Regions from separate parts of the Homo sapiens genome. Here all the other regions are linked to region 1. Evidence: promoter capture Hi-C in 16 types of primary human blood cells and fetal thymus (Javierre and others, 2016). All regions are on one chromosome and are shown on one strand. Each heading gives the region's core, a stretch centred on a gene start or on the middle of the fragment in contact. The rest is flanking DNA. Distances are from core to core; before and after follow the strand shown.

Evidence for each region. Contacts are between HindIII fragments. The CHiCAGO score rates a contact against its expected background, and 5 or more counts as called.
Region 2: the fragment with the promoter of PVR here is called in contact with the fragment with the promoter of APOE in region 1 in 1 of 17 cell types (neutrophils); the score reaches 7.1 in neutrophils.
Region 3: a contact is called between a fragment that was not itself captured here and the fragment with the promoter of APOE in region 1, in 2 of 17 cell types (naive CD4 T cells and naive CD8 T cells). The highest score is 5.2, in naive CD4 T cells.

What each region holds. Positions count from the first base shown.
Region 1 is chr19:44,904,150-44,907,220 of GRCh38, forward strand. It overlaps APOE (apolipoprotein E), which reads left to right and starts at 1,647. Exons shown (of 4, transcript NM_000041.4): 1 at 1,647-1,692; 2 at 2,453-2,518. The coding sequence starts at 2,476. RefSeq lists enhancers at 964-1,766, 2,569-3,071. The HindIII fragment of the contact is 10,718 bases long and covers 1-3,071 here.
Region 2 is chr19:44,642,402-44,645,644 of GRCh38, forward strand. It overlaps PVR (PVR cell adhesion molecule), which reads left to right and starts at 1,509. Exons shown (of 8, transcript NM_006505.5): 1 at 1,509-1,774. The coding sequence starts at 1,696. RefSeq lists a silencer at 1,461-1,540. The HindIII fragment of the contact is 7,623 bases long and covers 1-3,243 here.
Region 3 is chr19:45,350,677-45,353,376 of GRCh38, forward strand. KLC3 (kinesin light chain 3) reads left to right here. Exons shown (of 13, transcript NM_177417.3): 11 at 1-71; 12 at 278-341; 13 at 610-843. The coding sequence ends at 681. It overlaps ERCC2 (ERCC excision repair 2, TFIIH core complex helicase subunit), which reads right to left. Exons shown (of 23, transcript NM_000400.4): 18 at 2,566-2,658; 19 at 2,407-2,479; 20 at 2,070-2,140; 21 at 1,830-1,973; 22 at 1,533-1,676; 23 at 1-1,045. The coding sequence ends at 953. Among named protein-coding and RNA genes, the nearest start is that of KLC3, 11 kb to the left of the region's middle. The HindIII fragment of the contact is 7,370 bases long and covers 1-2,700 here.

The DNA.
Region 1 (3,071 bases), core at 397-2,896:
GGCCTGGGAGGAGGGGCCTAGGCCAGCCATGGGAGTTGGGTCACCTGTGTCTGAGGACTTGGTGCTGTCTGGATTTTGCCAACCTAGGGCTGGGGTCAGCTGATGCCCACCACGACTCCCGAGCCTCCAGGAACTGAAACCCTGTCTGCCCCCAGGGTCTGGGGAAGGAGGCTGCTGAGTAGAACCAACCCCAGGTTACCAACCCCACCTCAGCCACCCCTTGCCAGCCAAAGCAAACAGGCCCGGCCCGGCACTGGGGGTTCCTTCTCGAACCAGGAGTTCAGCCTCCCCTGACCCGCAGAATCTTCTGATCCCACCCGCTCCAGGAGCCAGGAATGAGTCCCAGTCTCTCCCAGTTCTCACTGTGTGGTTTTGCCATTCGTCTTGCTGCTGAACCACGGGTTTCTCCTCTGAAACATCTGGGATTTATAACAGGGCTTAGGAAAGTGACAGCGTCTGAGCGTTCACTGTGGCCTGTCCATTGCTAGCCCTAACATAGGACCGCTGTGTGCCAGGGCTGTCCTCCATGCTCAATACACGTTAGCTTGTCACCAAACATACCCGTGCCGCTGCTTTCCCAGTCTGATGAGCAAAGGAACTTGATGCTCAGAGAGGACAAGTCATTTGCCCAAGGTCACACAGCTGGCAACTGGCAGAGCCAGGATTCACGCCCTGGCAATTTGACTCCAGAATCCTAACCTTAACCCAGAAGCACGGCTTCAAGCCCCTGGAAACCACAATACCTGTGGCAGCCAGGGGGAGGTGCTGGAATCTCATTTCACATGTGGGGAGGGGGCTCCCCTGTGCTCAAGGTCACAACCAAAGAGGAAGCTGTGATTAAAACCCAGGTCCCATTTGCAAAGCCTCGACTTTTAGCAGGTGCATCATACTGTTCCCACCCCTCCCATCCCACTTCTGTCCAGCCGCCTAGCCCCACTTTCTTTTTTTTCTTTTTTTGAGACAGTCTCCCTCTTGCTGAGGCTGGAGTGCAGTGGCGAGATCTCGGCTCACTGTAACCTCCGCCTCCCGGGTTCAAGCGATTCTCCTGCCTCAGCCTCCCAAGTAGCTAGGATTACAGGCGCCCGCCACCACGCCTGGCTAACTTTTGTATTTTTAGTAGAGATGGGGTTTCACCATGTTGGCCAGGCTGGTCTCAAACTCCTGACCTTAAGTGATTCGCCCACTGTGGCCTCCCAAAGTGCTGGGATTACAGGCGTGAGCTACCGCCCCCAGCCCCTCCCATCCCACTTCTGTCCAGCCCCCTAGCCCTACTTTCTTTCTGGGATCCAGGAGTCCAGATCCCCAGCCCCCTCTCCAGATTACATTCATCCAGGCACAGGAAAGGACAGGGTCAGGAAAGGAGGACTCTGGGCGGCAGCCTCCACATTCCCCTTCCACGCTTGGCCCCCAGAATGGAGGAGGGTGTCTGTATTACTGGGCGAGGTGTCCTCCCTTCCTGGGGACTGTGGGGGGTGGTCAAAAGACCTCTATGCCCCACCTCCTTCCTCCCTCTGCCCTGCTGTGCCTGGGGCAGGGGGAGAACAGCCCACCTCGTGACTGGGGGCTGGCCCAGCCCGCCCTATCCCTGGGGGAGGGGGCGGGACAGGGGGAGCCCTATAATTGGACAAGTCTGGGATCCTTGAGTCCTACTCAGCCCCAGCGGAGGTGAAGGACGTCCTTCCCCAGGAGCCGGTGAGAAGCGCAGTCGGGGGCACGGGGATGAGCTCAGGGGCCTCTAGAAAGAGCTGGGACCCTGGGAACCCCTGGCCTCCAGGTAGTCTCAGGAGAGCTACTCGGGGTCGGGCTTGGGGAGAGGAGGAGCGGGGGTGAGGCAAGCAGCAGGGGACTGGACCTGGGAAGGGCTGGGCAGCAGAGACGACCCGACCCGCTAGAAGGTGGGGTGGGGAGAGCAGCTGGACTGGGATGTAAGCCATAGCAGGACTCCACGAGTTGTCACTATCATTTATCGAGCACCTACTGGGTGTCCCCAGTGTCCTCAGATCTCCATAACTGGGGAGCCAGGGGCAGCGACACGGTAGCTAGCCGTCGATTGGAGAACTTTAAAATGAGGACTGAATTAGCTCATAAATGGAACACGGCGCTTAACTGTGAGGTTGGAGCTTAGAATGTGAAGGGAGAATGAGGAATGCGAGACTGGGACTGAGATGGAACCGGCGGTGGGGAGGGGGTGGGGGGATGGAATTTGAACCCCGGGAGAGGAAGATGGAATTTTCTATGGAGGCCGACCTGGGGATGGGGAGATAAGAGAAGACCAGGAGGGAGTTAAATAGGGAATGGGTTGGGGGCGGCTTGGTAAATGTGCTGGGATTAGGCTGTTGCAGATAATGCAACAAGGCTTGGAAGGCTAACCTGGGGTGAGGCCGGGTTGGGGCCGGGCTGGGGGTGGGAGGAGTCCTCACTGGCGGTTGATTGACAGTTTCTCCTTCCCCAGACTGGCCAATCACAGGCAGGAAGATGAAGGTTCTGTGGGCTGCGTTGCTGGTCACATTCCTGGCAGGTATGGGGGCGGGGCTTGCTCGGTTCCCCCCGCTCCTCCCCCTCTCATCCTCACCTCAACCTCCTGGCCCCATTCAGGCAGACCCTGGGCCCCCTCTTCTGAGGCTTCTGTGCTGCTTCCTGGCTCTGAACAGCGATTTGACGCTCTCTGGGCCTCGGTTTCCCCCATCCTTGAGATAGGAGTTAGAAGTTGTTTTGTTGTTGTTGTTTGTTGTTGTTGTTTTGTTTTTTTGAGATGAAGTCTCGCTCTGTCGCCCAGGCTGGAGTGCAGTGGCGGGATCTCGGCTCACTGCAAGCTCCGCCTCCCAGGTCCACGCCATTCTCCTGCCTCAGCCTCCCAAGTAGCTGGGACTACAGGCACATGCCACCACACCCGACTAACTTTTTTGTATTTTCAGTAGAGACGGGGTTTCACCATGTTGGCCAGGCTGGTCTGGAACTCCTGACCTCAGGTGATCTGCCCGTTTCGATCTCCCAAAGTGCTGGGATTACAGGCGTGAGCCACCGCACCTGGCTGGGAGTTAGAGGTTTCTAATGCATTGCAGGCAGATAGT
Region 2 (3,243 bases), core at 259-2,758, 260 kb before region 1:
GGGTTTGGCTCTCTGAGTCTCTCTGTCACCTCTCATTTCTCTCTCATCTCCCTCTGTCTATGCTGTGTCTCTATCTCTTTCAATCTCTCTGTCTCTGTCTCCCAGCCCTTATCTCTGAGTGTGTCTGTTTCTCTCTCATTTCTCTCTCTCTCTCTCTCTCTTTCTCTCTCTCTCTTTCTCTCTCTCTCTTTCTCTCTCCCCCCTCCCTCCTCCCCTCTCCCTACTGCAGGCTGGTCCATAACCCTTATCTTCCCCAGACCTGATGGAGTTCTGGTATTAATCTGTTTATGGTCTGTTTCCCTCCACTAGAACACGGTCTTCATTAAAGGCAGAGATTTTTGTCTGTCTTATTTTCTGCTGTATACCCAGTGCCTGGGATACTGGCTGGATCAATAAATATATGCTGAATGAAGAATGAATGAATGACCATTCTCATGAACATTATTATTTGATGCCAACTGTAAAGCAACAATAATAATAATTGTCACTGCCACTGCTGCTATTGTTGGTATATCAGCTTTTTATTTAGTACAAACTATATCCCCGAAATTGAGCTAGGCAGTTTCTTGTTTAAGTTTTACAGACCACGCTGTGAGGTAAGTACTGTTAGTATGCCCTTTTTTCTTTCTTTTTGAGACAGAGTCTCACTCTGTCGCCCAGGCTGGAGTGCAGAGGCCCGATCTTGGCTCACTGCAACCTCTGCCTCCCGGGTACAAGTGATTTTCCTGTCTTAGCCTCCCCAGTAGCTGGGATTACAGGCATGTGCCACCATGCCGGCTAATTTTTGTATTTTTAGTAAAGATGGGTTTTTGCCATGTTGGCCAGGCTGGTCTTGAACTCCTGGACCTCTGGTGATCCTCCTGCCTCGGCCTCCCAAAGTGCTGGGATTACAGGCGTCAGCCACTGCGCTTGCTCCCCCAGCCCCCAAACTTTTTTTTTTTTTTTTGAGACAGGTCTGGCTCTGCCACCCAAGCTGTAGTGTAGTGGCGCAATGGTAGCTCACTGAAGCCTCTAACTCCTGGGTTCACACAGTCCTCCTGCCTCAGCCTCCCAAAATGCTGGAATTCAGGCCTGAGCCACCGCGCCCTACTATGCCCATTTTTCAGATAAAGAATCTGAGGGCCCTCGAGGAGAAACCACTTGCCCAACATGAGCCCTGGTCTTGTCTGACCCCAAAGCCCATGGGAAGTTTAGGCTGCGTGGAAGGACAGCCTGGTGGGCTCAGGATCTGTCCCATCACGAGTTGGAACCTCAGCTCTGCCACTCGGCAACCGCGAGCCGTTAGTAAGTTGCTGAATCTCTCCGTGTGCCTCCGTTTCCTCACCTGGAATGTGGGCGACCTCACACAGGAAGCCGCCTCTTCTAGTGGGCACCGACGGAGCGAGCGCGCGTCTGCAGCGGGACTGAGCGCCGGGAGAGACCTGCGCAGGCGCAGGCGCGCGGGGAGGGCCAGCCTGGGTGGCCCACCCCGCGCCTGGCGGGACTGGCCGCCAACTCCCCTCCGCTCCAGTCACTTGTCTGGAGCTTGAAGAAGTGGGTATTCCCCTTCCCACCCCAGGCACTGGAGGAGCGGCCCCCCGGGGATTCCAGGACCTGAGCTCCGGGAGCTGGACTCGCAGCGACCGCGGCAGAGCGAGCGGGCGCCGGGAAGCGAGGAGACGCCCGCGGGAGGCCCAGCTGCTCGGAGCAACTGGCATGGCCCGAGCCATGGCCGCCGCGTGGCCGCTGCTGCTGGTGGCGCTACTGGTGCTGTCCTGGCCACCCCCAGGAACCGGTGAGTGACCCCCGCGCAGTCCGGTGGCCCCTGTCTGGCTCCCAGCTCCGCATCCAGGCCGGGTACTCGCCCCCTTGGGTTCCCGAAGATGACGGCCCCGCCCGGCGCCACCCACCCCCCATCTCTGCCCCGGGGTTGGAAGGAACACGGTGCGAGGGTGCGAGGGCAGGACCCTCCTCTTGGCCACCCGGAGAGCGGTCGGAGTTGGGTACAGAAATTCCTCGAAATTGGCAGCAACACGGGTCGGGCACAAGACCCTCCTCTGGGCCCCTCGGAAAGGGGATGGAGTTGGGTGAGGAAATTTCCCAAAAAGGCAAGTGAATCCCGGAAAATCAGCAGATGGTGACGCATGCCGGATTACCTTACCCAGGTTCCTGCTCAGCATACCCAGGCCATAACCCAGCAGCGTGCTGGCAGGCTGGGTCTGGACGGAGGGGATGGTTGATGTTGGGGAGGAGGACAGTGGGTGACACTTGACACCATTACCCCTCTGACCCCCAATGTCTGACTCCAGGGGCCTGGCCATTCATTCATTCTTTCATTCTTTTTTTTTTTTTTTTGAGACAGTCTCACTCCATCACCCAGGCTGGAGTGCAGTGTCCTGCTCTCGGCTCACTGCAGCCTCCTCCTCCCGAGTTCAAGCGATTCTCCTGCTTCAGCCTCCCGAGTAGCTCGGATTACAGACATGTGCCACTATGCCTGGCTAATATTTTTGTATTTTTAGTAGATACAGGATTTCACCATGTTGGCCAGGCTGGTCTCAAACTCCTGATAAATATATATATTATATATTATTATTATATATTACATATTATAGTAATATATAATAAAAATATATAATATATATTATAGTAATATATAATATATAATAAAATATATAATATATATTATAGTAATATATAATATATAATAAAATATATAATATATATTATAGTAATATATAATATATTATAATATATTATATATATTATTATAATATATAATATGTATATTATATATTATATATATTATTATAATATATAATATGTATATTATATATTATATATATTATTATAATATATAATATGTATTATGTATTATATAATTGATAATATATAATAATATATTTCTTAATAAATATATATTAAATATATTATATATTTATAACATATATTATTTATATAATAAATAATATATATTTTATTATACATTTAAAGAGTAAATAGATAACATATTTTATTATTTATTTATATGTTTTGTGTATATATATATATATATATATATATATATAGTGCGTGTGTGCGTGTATGTGTGTGTGTGTATGAGAGAGACAAGGTCTTGCTTTGTTGCCCAGGCTGGAGTGCAGTGGTACAATCCCGGCTCATTGCAAACTCGACTTCCCAGGCTCAAGCGATCCTCTCACTGTGGCTTCTGGAGTAGCTGGGATTATAGGTGCTCACCTGGCTAATTTTTTTTGTATTTTTGGTAGA
Region 3 (2,700 bases), core at 201-2,700, 450 kb after region 1:
GAGTCTATCAGGCGAGGAAGTGAGAAGCTGGTCTCCCGGCTCCGAGGCGAGGCGGCGGCAGGAGCAGCCGGGTGAGTGTTGATCAGGTCGGCAAAGAGCCCTGACATCAGCAGAATCCACAGCCCACCCCACCCCCACCCCCATCTTGCTCAAGAACCTTCCATGGCTCCCATCTCCCCTGTGATACACACAGATCAAACCCTGTGCTGGAAAGGTCCCTCGTGGAGGGGGGCCACTCCTGGATTCACTCATTTCCTCCCTGCTGCCCTCTTTGCAGAATGAAGAGAGCCATGTCACTCAACACACTGAACGTGGATGCTCCAAGGGCTCCTGGGACTCAGGTGAGGGGGACATCTGGGTCAAAAATAGAGGAGGCCATGTGGGTAGGTGCAGAGATGAGGCAAAGGCAGGGCGGTCGGGCCAGTGGTGGAGTCAGCAGGTGGTGGGTTGGTGTCAGAAGAGACCCAGGACAGGAGCAAAGATGGGTTTTACTTGGGGTAGAGGCGAGGGGGTTGGATAGTTGGCTGCCAGGCTGGACCTGGAGCTGGAGGGTGGATGTAACACTTGCCCCTCACCTCCCCTCCAACCATCCCCTGTGCCTGTCTCCAGTTTCCCAGCTGGCACCTGGACAAGGCCCCTCGGACCCTCAGCGCCAGCACCCAGGACCTGAGCCCCCACTAACGTCCAGTGAACTGCGCTGGCCGCAGCTTCTTGGGAACAGTGCAGGAGGGATGGGCTGGTGGGGTGAGAGGGGGTCTATCATCTCCTGGCCCCCCCTTGCCTCTGGGTACCTGGTGGATAGCTGCCTTCTCCTGCGATTAAAGGCTGTGGACGTGACAGTGAGAAATGTCACCTGACTTCATAAGACCTTCTAGCACCACCGCCGCTGGGAACCAGGGCCAGGCAAGACTCAGGAGTCACCAGGAACCGTTTATGGCCCCACCCGCCCCACTCAGAGCTGCTGAGCAATCTGCTCTATCCTCTTCAGCGTCTCCTCTGATTCTAGCTGCTCCAGGCTGAGCAGGGACAGGCCCAGCTGATCCTCCTGCAGAGAACAGAGGAAAGGGAGAGGGGGGCACTGTTGGGCAGGGGCCCAGGCAGCTGCTGCACTTCCCCAACCACCCCCCCGAATGGCCAGTAGGGACAGGATGTTTGAATGAATTTGGAGATGTCCGTATAATCCAGAGCGGGCCATCCCTGTCAACATAAGATGGGGCTGAGGGAGGAGCCAGCTAGGGAGTCGGAGAAGGACCGGCTTTCTCCAGGCCAGCACCGTCTCTCCTGAAAACGCCCAATGCCTCCTCACCCCAACTTCTCTCACCCTGCCGTGCCTGGGCCACCTGCTGGCATCTGTGGCCCCTCGAATCTCCCCCTTCCCCCCAGAGCCTGGCACGTAGATGCACGATAAACTTCTCTTTGCTGAGGGCAGGAGGACAGGCAGGCTGAGGGTGGGGAGTGGGGAGAATCCAAGGGGACTTTCTGGAGGAGAAGCTCAGCCTGGGAGGGTGCCGGGAGGGGGACGCAGGCCTCACCCGGTGGAAGGGCTGTGCCATCTGCCGCAGGAAGTACTTGGCCACCTGGACACCCTCGTCCACGGTCAGGTTGAGGTTGGCATCTGTGAGGTGCTCCTGGATCCAGCGGGGCAGCTTCCCCCGCTTGTCCCCACGGGCAAACCGCTGTGGGCAGAAGCGCAGGCCAGGGACAGAAGGTCATTCGGGGAGCCTGGGCCACTCTCCACCCTGCAACCCACCCCACCTGGGAAATGAACGGGAAACAGCCTGGTTCTTGGAGCCTGGGATGGGAGCACAGGGGCACCCCTGAAGCTGCACCTTGTCGGCAAAGACCATGAGGCCGTAGTCCGTCTTGCCCCTGATGGCCCGACCCACACACTGGGCCGCGTGGCGCATGGCATCGAAGGTAAGAAAGTCATTCTCACGAATCTGGAACTGGTCCCGCAGGTATTCCAGCCGCGCCTGCAGATACGGAGGATGAGAAGCTGGGGAGGTGGGGGAGCCACTCCTCCCTTGATCCTAACACTGTGGGACTCCCTGGGAGACAGAGCTACTCACCTTGAGAATGCGGCTCTGTGTGTAGACGTAGGGGACGCCAAACATGATGACGGCCCGCCCGTAGTGGTGCACTGGTGGGCAGAGGAGAGGGGGCGAGGGGGGTTACAAGTGTGGCTGGTGGGACAGGGACAGCCTCACGCGACCCAGGATGCTGTGTCTGAGTTGGGGGGAGAGGGTGTGTTCCCGCCGGGTGCCTAGGGACAGAGGGGAGGGGAGGGCCCCTCTGTGCACCTAGGCTGGGGGTGGGTGGTTCCCCGCGGGAGCAGACAGCAGAGCGGGCAGGTGTTCCAGAGAGCTCTGGGAAGACACCTGGGGAGGAAGAGCCCAGTCCACTCACCAAAGTCGATTCCCTCGGACACTTTGCCCCGGGCCACTGACAGCAGGATGGCCCCGCGGCCATTCTCGCAGGCCTGAGGTGGGGAGACCGAGACGCAAGTTAGGTCACTCCTCAGAGCCACCTCCCCGACCCCTCTCCACGCTGGCCTCGCACACCCACCTCCTGGTACTTCTCCAGGGCGACACTGGTTTCGGCACCATCCTGGGTCTCAATAAAGAGCAGCTTGTTCCTCTGGATGTTCTCAAGGATCCCCTGGGGAAGGACCCAGGGAGGTCAGGGTGGGTTCAGGGCACA